Regions from separate parts of the Homo sapiens genome. Here regions 2 and 3 are each linked to region 1. Evidence: promoter capture Hi-C in 16 types of primary human blood cells and fetal thymus (Javierre and others, 2016). All regions are on one chromosome and are shown on one strand. The core of a region is centred on a gene start or on the middle of the fragment in contact, and the rest is flanking DNA. Distances in the headings are between cores, read along the strand shown.

What was found. The method cuts DNA at HindIII sites, captures the fragments that hold promoters and counts their contacts. A CHiCAGO score of 5 or more calls a contact.
Region 2: a contact is called between a fragment that was not itself captured here and the fragment with the promoter of ATP5MC1 in region 1, in 1 of 17 cell types (neutrophils). The highest score is 5.3, in neutrophils.
Region 3: a fragment that was not itself captured here is called in contact with the fragment with the promoter of ATP5MC1 in region 1 in 1 of 17 cell types (neutrophils); the score reaches 5.8 in neutrophils.

The regions. Positions count from the first base shown.
Region 1 is chr17:48,891,385-48,894,314 of GRCh38, forward strand. ATP5MC1 (ATP synthase membrane subunit c locus 1) reads left to right here and starts at 1,403. Exons shown (of 5, transcript NM_005175.3): 1 at 1,403-1,526; 2 at 2,025-2,072. The coding sequence starts at 2,034. LOC105371814 (a long non-coding RNA gene) reads right to left here. Exons shown (of 4, transcript NR_135674.1): 2 at 863-1,293. RefSeq lists enhancers at 219-1,198, 836-1,295, 1,306-1,425, 2,006-2,115, 2,156-2,205. The HindIII fragment of the contact is 10,294 bases long and covers 1-2,930 here.
Region 2 is chr17:48,013,700-48,016,629 of GRCh38, forward strand. No RefSeq gene overlaps it. Among named protein-coding and RNA genes, the nearest start is that of MIR10226, 18 kb to the right of the region's middle. RefSeq lists enhancers at 1,326-1,827, 1,828-2,327. The HindIII fragment of the contact is 3,187 bases long and covers 1-2,930 here.
Region 3 is chr17:48,029,665-48,032,594 of GRCh38, forward strand. It overlaps COPZ2 (coat protein complex I subunit zeta 2), which reads right to left. Exons shown (of 9, transcript NM_016429.4): 6 at 2,492-2,569. Among named protein-coding and RNA genes, the nearest start is that of MIR10226, 1.8 kb to the right of the region's middle. The HindIII fragment of the contact is 869 bases long and covers 1,104-1,972 here.

The DNA of each region.
Region 1 (2,930 bases), core at 153-2,652:
AACATTTACTTGTTTCCAATTTCGACAAACTCTGCAAATGCACATCTTTTTAAAAGAATCTGCATTTCTGATTCTTCAAAATAAATTCCTAGAAGTGATATTACTGGATGAAAAGTGGATGGAGAGCTTAAAGGCTCTTAGTTACTCAAGAATTACTGGGTCAAAGAGGATGGCCCATTCACAGCCTTTGAATAAAAATAAATATTGCCAAACTGCTTTCAAGGAAGGTTTTCTAATTCATCCTCTCACCAGCAATATAGGAGAGCGTGTGGCTCACATTAATAAAAAGAACTCTGCTGTTTTGAGCAGTACTAAGCGGAGCGTTTAAACTTATATTTCTTTGATTAGGAAGGCTGACATTCGTTCCTGCAATTCATATTTCTTCCTTACTGAATTGCCTGTTCCTATCCTTTGCTCGTTTTTCTATAGGGATATTATTTCATTCTTTCAGTGTTGTTTTTACAAAATAAACAATTTTTTTGTTTGTTTTTTCCCCCGAGACGGAATCCTGCTCAGTTGCCCAGGCTGGAGTGCAGTGGCGCGATCTCGGCTCCCTGCAACCTCGGCCTCCCGGGTTCAAGCGATTCTCCTGCCTCAGCCTCCCAAGTAGCTGGGATTACAGGCACGCGCCACCACCATGCCCGGCTAATTTTTGTATTCTTAGTAGAGACGGGGTTTCACCATGCTGGTCAGGCTGATCTCGAACTCCTGACCTCAGGTGATCCGCCCGCCTCGGCCTCCCAAAGTGCTGGGATTACAGGCGTGAGCCACTGCACCCGGCCCAACAAATGTTTTAGAAAGCCATCTGGATGATAGTCCATGACTGCTGAACACCGGCTGAGGTCCACAAAACTGCGCTCACCGCTTGGGGACTTTCCAGCCGGCCTTTACTCTCCATGGAAAGCGGTCTTTCCACAAACCTCCACGGTGGGAATTACTGCAAAGGCATCGGCTCTCCCGGCCTAGAATATCTCGCGGGATCTCAGCTGTCCTTGGGCCCCCCCCCTCAGCGCAACTACCAATCCCAACATGCAACGCGCCCCGTGGCCCAAGCGCCCGAATGAAGGCTCGGGGCCAAAGTCATGTGTCTGACTGCGTCACACGTCCCGTCATCTCTCCCACGCCTTTTTCTTCAGCGTACACCTTGGTCGCCATCTTGTGCGCGAGGTTATGGAACCTCTGAGTCCCGCCAACTCTATGGTCGAGCGTTTCAGGGATCGGCCAATCGTAATCCAGATCTCGTAGGAAAGCCCCGCCTCTATCCGCATGGAGGCGGGAATTGCCACGAAGCTCCTGTGGAGGGAGAGGAAGCAGCTGCGGAAAGCCAATAAGAGTGGGGAATCGATGACGTCAACCAATGGGGACGCGGGGATATTACGGCCAATGAGAATGGAGAAGGTCCAGGACACGTGGGTGGGGGAAGCTGAGCGCTGAGACCAAGGGCTAAAGCTGGGAGGTGAGTCTGTCACCTTGAGCCGGGCGAGCGCTGTGGGCCAAGCAGGGGTTGCAGGGTAGTAGGAGTGCAGGTGACTTGGGGCCGGGAGCCAGCAATAGGCAGGGTTGTGGGCTGGGCAGTGTGGAGGGGTATTTCCCCCCAGTGCTGGGAGAGGCTATGGCAATCTAGATATGGCCTTATCAATGAATGTTAATTACCAACGGTAATGAACGATTGACTGCCTCGGCTGGGGCGGGTCGGGGACTGCTGTGTAAGATGGGCAGGATCCTGCGCGACACCTGCCCAGTATCCGCCTCCAGTCTTCCCGAGAGACCATTCCCTTTCGCAACATTTCCTTCCTGGGGCTTGGGCACATTTCCTTGACTTCCGATCTCCATGACTTTGCTTTGAAGACCCACTGCTCTGTCCCTCTGACCTCTAATGCCCTCCTCAGCTGGGGCACGGTGCAAGGAAGAGCGTGGTCTAGGGAGGACGGACGGGGGTGAAGGGGACGACCAAAGGTCGTCATTATAAGCAAACAACCAGGGTCTCAGTGGGATTATTATTACTATTTTTTCCCCCTCTGCAGACTGAAAAAATGCAGACCGCCGGGGCATTATTCATTTCTCCAGCTCTGGTAAGGTGCCGCGCCGCAGTGCTCTGTAGTACCAGGTGTATGGTGTGGACGCCATCAGTGTTTAATGAATGAACCCAGGGGAGCTTGGCGTCCTGATGATGTAGGCTCTTTGAGGTGGCTGTAGGATGTGATGAAGGTAACCCCTGTTTATCTGGGCCTGTGAACCAAGCTATCTTGGCTTTGGAATGTGGTCAGAGAGTCTGGATTTGATTTTTATCCCCAGTCTGTCCTGGCCATAGAGACAGCCCACTAAAACAGTGGTTTTCAACAGTGGCTGCACGTTAGAATCATCCAGGGAACTTTTTAAAATCCTGATGCCTAGGCTGCACCTTAGACCATTTGCATCAGACTTTGGGAATGGGGGTGGAACCCAGGCATCTGTATCTTTTAAGACTTCTCCAGATGATTCCACCGTGCAGCCAAGTTTGAGAACCACTGCACTAAAAATTATTTCAAAAAAGCCATGTTACAGATGGCTCTCCTTGGATGGCTATTCCAGTCGGTTTCCGGGGCTGACTGGCCCACTCCATTTAGGGTGTGTAGCTGTGAGTGTATTTTAGCAGAATAAAATTTCCCCCATCTGATTACTTGGTGATCTGGGTATAAACCTTTCCTGTACCTGCTTTGGTATTAGTGTGGGTTCTTGTTCCATTCTGAGAAGCTGATTAAAGCTGTGCCCAAAGAAGTGAACTTTGGTTTGGTTTTGAATGGTGAAGGTTGCCACTGCTGACTATATCAAGCTATTGAGACAGCTGTCTCTGGGGCAGGCCTATCTGATAGGAACAGGAATAAATTGACCTTGAAATACATTGAACTTATTCTGTTTATGAAATCTGTAGTCATTTTTGACAGCTCAGC
Region 2 (2,930 bases), core at 230-2,729, 880 kb before region 1:
CGAGGCTACTAAGAATCCTCATGCTAGAGCTGCAAGGGCCTTTAGAGATCTGGACCGATCCTTCATTTTACAGATGAAAAAACTGAAATCCAGAGAGGAATGACAACTGGCCAAGATCCCACAGCTAGAAATAGTGGAACCAGGTTTTTATTTCTGCAATAGTGGCCACTGTTCTGCCCTCTTTCCTCTCTCAGAGGCAACCAGCTGGGAAACTCTGGTTTCCAAGTCCTCTCTCAGAGGCAACCGGCTGGGAAACTCTGGTTTCCAAGAGGCACAGACAGAATCCCAAAAATCTCAGGCCTTTCCCAGCCCCTAGTCACCCTGCCTCCTGAAGGCCTGTCACCTACCTGAAGGCAGCTCCACTAGAGTGACAGCTCCTGTTGGCCCTGGCTGGCTCAGGGCCTCTGGGGAGGGTATGGGGGGATGGTGGGTTGGGAGAGAACTTTTGTGGGGCCTCCTTCAGTCAATGGTCTACAGCTCTGTCTTTGTCTGTCTGTCACTCAGAAGGGAACTGCTGAAGGGAGAGGTCAGGCTGGTCGGTAGAAAGGGAGAAAGAGGCCTATCCCTGTCAGAGAGGGGTTGGGAAGAAGGCAGGCAAGGGGACCGAAGCTCCTTCAACCTCCTCATCCTCTCCCACTCCAACTCCTGGGCTGTTTCCCCTAGGGAATTCCAGGCTTTGCTCATTTTAGGACCAGGGCAGCAACTGCACACAAAGGCCCTTCTCTTCTTGCCGTGTGAAATCCTGGCTCCCCATTGGAGAGCTACTCCCTTACCCTGCCCTGTCTGCAAGAAGAGGCTGCCAAGGGGTCTAACTCAAACCTACAAGGCAGGGAGTTCCATTGCGTTCCCCTTCCATGCAACCAGCACCCTGACTCCACCCCTGTGCTTGCCCGTGTCCCTGCTCGCGCCTGCCACATCAGATTCCCCAGGCTCCCTCACCCCCCCGTGCAATTTAAAGCAGATTCATCCCCTGAGAGCCCCAGTTTCCAGGCCACCCTAGCTTCTACTGTACACTATCCTATCTCCCCAGATTGTGCTGTTTCCAGTCTCCCCTTGTTCCCTCTGCACACGAATCTTCCTCCCCAGATTCAACTGTTTTCAGGCTACTCCCTCTGTCTGCCCCCTGTACACGACTGTCTCCCCAGATCCTGCTGTTTCTAGGTTCCCCCATATTTCCCCGGTATACAAATTGGCCTCCCTGGATTCAGCAGTTTCCAGAAGCCCCTTGCTCTCTCACTAGGCAGTTCCATCTCCCCAGATTCAGCTGTTTTCAGGCTCCCTTCATTTGCCCTGTACACAGGTACCCCTCCCAGGTTCTGCTGTTTCTAGGCTTCCCGATTTCCCTTGTATACGCATCAGTTTCTAGCTTATGTTGATCCCAGCTGCCTAAGGGATTCAGCAGGTTTAGGGAGAGTGGAAGGAAGAAGAGAGTCAGAAAGAGGAGGAGAAGAAAGATGGTCATCAGGGAAGCTCCGGATTTCTCTTGTGACCCTAAGCAGCTTGCATATGACAGCCTCTGGGCCTCTGCCTCTACAAATAGGTCCCTTAAGGCCATCTGCCCTGGGATACCCCAATCCCCTCCCCATTGCTGCTGCCCAGGATCTGAGCTTTAAGTTGGACATCCTCCGGAGGGCCCCCGTCTTGGCAGGAGTGCTTATGCTTGCATGAGGTGGGACAGGCAAGAGCCTTCCCAAGCCAGGAGTTCCCTTGTCTCTCCTCTGCTATTTCCTTCTTGCCTTCCCAGCACCCACGCCCGCCCCCTTTTTTTTTTCTTTTTGAGTTGGAGTTTCACTGTGTCGCCCAGGCTGGAGTGTAGTGGCGTGATCTCGGCTCGCTACAACCTCTGCCTCATGGGCTCAAGCAACAATCCTGCCTCCGCCTCCGGAGTAGCTGGGACTACAGGCGTGTGCCACCATGCCTAGCTAATTTTTGTATTTTTAGTAGAGACAAGGTTTCACCATGTTGGCCAGGCTGGTGAACTCCTGACCGCAGGTGATCCACCTGCCTTGGCCTCCCAAAGTGGTGGGATTACAGGCGTGAGCCACTGTGCCCACCCCCACCCCTTGTCTCTTTCTCATGTGTTGCACCTTAGCTCTCCTCAATTTATCCACATACAATTTATTTTATTTTATTTATTTATTATTTTTTTTTTGAGATGGAGTCACAAAGTGCTGGGATTATAGGCGTGAGCCACCACGCCTGGCCTTTTGTTTTATTTTTGAAACAGTCTTACTCTGTCGCCCAGGCTGGAGAGCAGTGGCATCATCTCATCTCACTGCAACCTCTGACTCTGGGGTTCAAGTGATTCTCCTCCTTCAGCATCCTGTATCCACATAGAATTTAAAGGAAACTCCAAATGCACTCCCAGAACTAAAGGGAGTACAGAACTAAAGAGTCACACTTTTTTTTTTTTTTTTTTTTTTTTTTTTTTCAGTTTTCAAGATGGAGTAGTATCAATCTCAGGCCCTGGAAACTGCCCCTGGACTAGTTTCCTGGCATGCTTCTCCAGCCTTTGTAAACAACTGTTTCATCTGCAGACTCCCTGCATCCTAATCCTCCTTGGGGCTGGAGGTGGGAGGGTATGGGAAGTGTTCTGCAAGGTACTCCAGTCTTCTTATCTTCTCTGACTCATTTAGCTACTGCCTGCAAAGTTTCCACTGGAATCTGGGGAAATGGTCTGATCCCTCATCGCCTTCCTCCATATACAGCTGCCTACCCATTAGACTAATCCCAGCCATTTGTCAGTCACGATGCTCCATCATACTGGCCCCAGCAAACTTTCTGGTTTCACTAAGAAATAAATAGGAAGGGCAGGCCCACTGGGTCCAGGATAGTGCCCTACAAGGAGACCTTTCTTCAAAATGAAATCCATACCTGGGTTCAGGCCGCATTGCTTCTGCTCCCAGCACCCGAGAGCATCCTCAATCACC
Region 3 (2,930 bases), core at 288-2,787, 860 kb before region 1:
CTCCCTTTTTTTTTTTTTTTAAGGCTGGGCACGGTGGCTCATGCCTGTAATCCCAGCACTTTGGGAGGCCGAGGCGGGTGGATCACCTGAGGTCAGGAGTTCCAGACCAGCCTGGCCAACATGGCGAAACCCTGTCTCTAGTAAAAGTACAAAAATCAGCCAGGCATGGTGGCACACATTGTAATTCCAGCTAATTGGGAGGGTGAGGCAGGAGAATCGCTTCAACCCGGGAGGCAGAGGTTGCAGTGAGCCAAGATTGCGCCACTGCACTCCAGCCTGGGCATCACAGTGAGACTCTGTCTAAAAAAAAAAAATTTTTTTTTTAAATCTTCCCTTTTAGGCCAGGCACAGTGGCTCACGCCTGCAATCCTAGCACTTTGGGAGGCTAAGGTGGGAGGATCACAAGGTGAAGAGTTCGAGACCAGCCTGGCCAATATGGTGAAACCCCGTCTTTACTGAAAATACAAAAAAAATTAGCCGGTAATGGTGGCGCACGCCTATAATCCCAGCTACTCGGGAGGCTGAGGCAGGAGAATTGCTTGAACCCAGGAGGCAGAGGTTGCAGTGAGCCAAGATCACGCCACTGCACTCCAGCCTGGGCGACAGAGTGAGACTCCATCTCAAAACACACACACACACACACACACACACACACACACACACACAAAGAAACAAACAAAAAAATTCCCTTTTGATAGACCCAAATATTGTAGCTTTTCTCAGAGAGCAGGCGCTCCTTCGTGAGGCCTTGGGGTTATGTACAGGGTACATGGGCGTGAGGGCCTGTCACTGCGGCAGGACAAAGATGACAGGATCTGAGTGTACCTCCTTACCCACTGAGACTCCTCCAAGGCAGAAGCTTTGTTTCTCTTTGTTACTAAATCACTGGAAATGACAAACATTTCTTGGGAGCCTCTTCCAGTCCCCATCCTTGGGCTGAGCACCCCCTGTCCCAAGCTCCCTAACCAGGGGTCCTGTAATCCATAAAGAAAGAGCATCCCAGGCCAAGGCTCCAGTTTAGGCGTTGCCTCCCGACTGGCGCTTCCCCAGTTTTTCTTGGCAGGAAACTGAGTTCCTCAGAGGCAGAGACGGGAAGCTTGTGAAGCTTACACCTCAGGCATCCTCCTTTGCACAGCCATCCAGAGCCCTGCATCTTGTTTTGCATTTATAGTTTTGTGTGTGTTTGTGTAAAGTTTTCCTTCAAGAGGGTTCACCAAATTGTATATGCTTCTGGCTCCCCAAAACCTGGCGTTACCCCACTCCCTTTTGGGTCCCAGAAATCTGCAGGAGGCATTCCTTAGTGCCCCAGGCAGTCCAGTACAGTGCCATAGAAACAGCATGGCCTCTGGAACTATTCACATGGTTTTAGATCTTGGCCCTGCCACTCCCTAGCTGTGTGAGAGACCTCCGGCGTGTCACTTGAAACTTTGAGCCTGTTTCCTAATGTATAAAATGATGTAATGATAGAGGGATGTATGTTTTTAAGGAGCTCAAGAAATTTCTATTGGCCGGGGATGGTGGCTCACACCTGTAATCCCAGCACTTTGGGAGGCTGAGGTGGGCGGATCACGAGGTCAGGAGATCGAGACCATCCTGGCTAACATGGTGAAACCCCGTCTCTACTAAAAATACAAAAAATTAGCTTGGTGTGGTGGTGGGTGCCTGTAGTCCCAGCTACTCAGGAGGCTGAAGCAGGAGAATGGTGTGAACCCGGGAGGTGGAGCTTGCAGTGAGCCGAGATCACGCCACTTACTGCACACCAGCCTGGGTGACAGAGCGAGACTCTGTCTCAAAAAAAAAAAAAAAAGAAATTTTTATTATCCTTTGCCCCAGAGCCAGAACTTCTTTTTCTCTCTGAATATTGATCCCCTGATGGAAATTCACAAGCCAACTTTTCTCAAAAGAGCTCCTAGCTTCCTAAGAATATACTAGCATACCAATAGGAGGCAACATCTATTGAATGAGAACCACAAGCTTCACATGTATCTTCTCACACATGTATTTAATCCCCACAATCCCTTATTACCTCCATCCTAAAGATGGAGAAAGTAAGCCTCGGGGAGGGTCAGTAATTGACCCAGGTCACGCATCTAGCTTGTGTTGGAATTGAGCCCTAAGAGCAGGACATGTGGGGCTGGTGGGACTGTCTGAAGTCCTTCCAGAGAGGGCCAGCATCTGTGCCAGTGCTTCCCCTGGGCATTGGAGACCAAACTGGATTTTCCCCAAACCCTGCCTATTCAACAGTCTCCCATAGTTTGACATCAGGTTAGTCTCTTGTTTGGCTTGACTTTGGCTAACATTGAAATCAACTTCTATCTTCATGAGTGGGGCGCTAGTAAGGGGAAGGGCTAGGGGAATGGGATCCCTGGGAATATGCTGGGGGAAGGGAGTGAGAAGTTGGTCAGAGTTCTAGCCATGCTGGGTGCCATCTGGGGCTGATGATTATCAAAGGCACTCCTGCTGTGAGTGTCCCTGACTGTCCCCTCCTCACCCGCCATCCACAATCTCGTCCAGCACCAAGAAGGCTCCGTCCATGTTCTCCAGCAACCAGCGCTTCTCCACGTTCTTCCTGAAGGTGGACACAAGCTCCTGAGCCTCCCTGTGGCTGGGAGGAACTGAGTCCCTGCCTAGGTGAGGCTGACCCCACTCTCCAAAGACTGCCTCATTCACCCCTCACCAAACAAGGACTGGGAAGGAGAATGTGAAGGGCAGTGAGCACAGAGCCCATGCAAGGCATTTCTGAGCAAAGGGCAGTTCTGCTTCCTTACACCCTACCTTGTCCAACCTCCCATACTTTGGGCCTTGACACCCTGGCACCCACCACAGGACCCCAGATGCGTTTCACAACTAGGTTAGATGCTATAGCACAGCCCTACTTTCGTTCATTGTGTCGACTGTGAACTTTTCTTTTTGGATTATCTTAGTCTTGT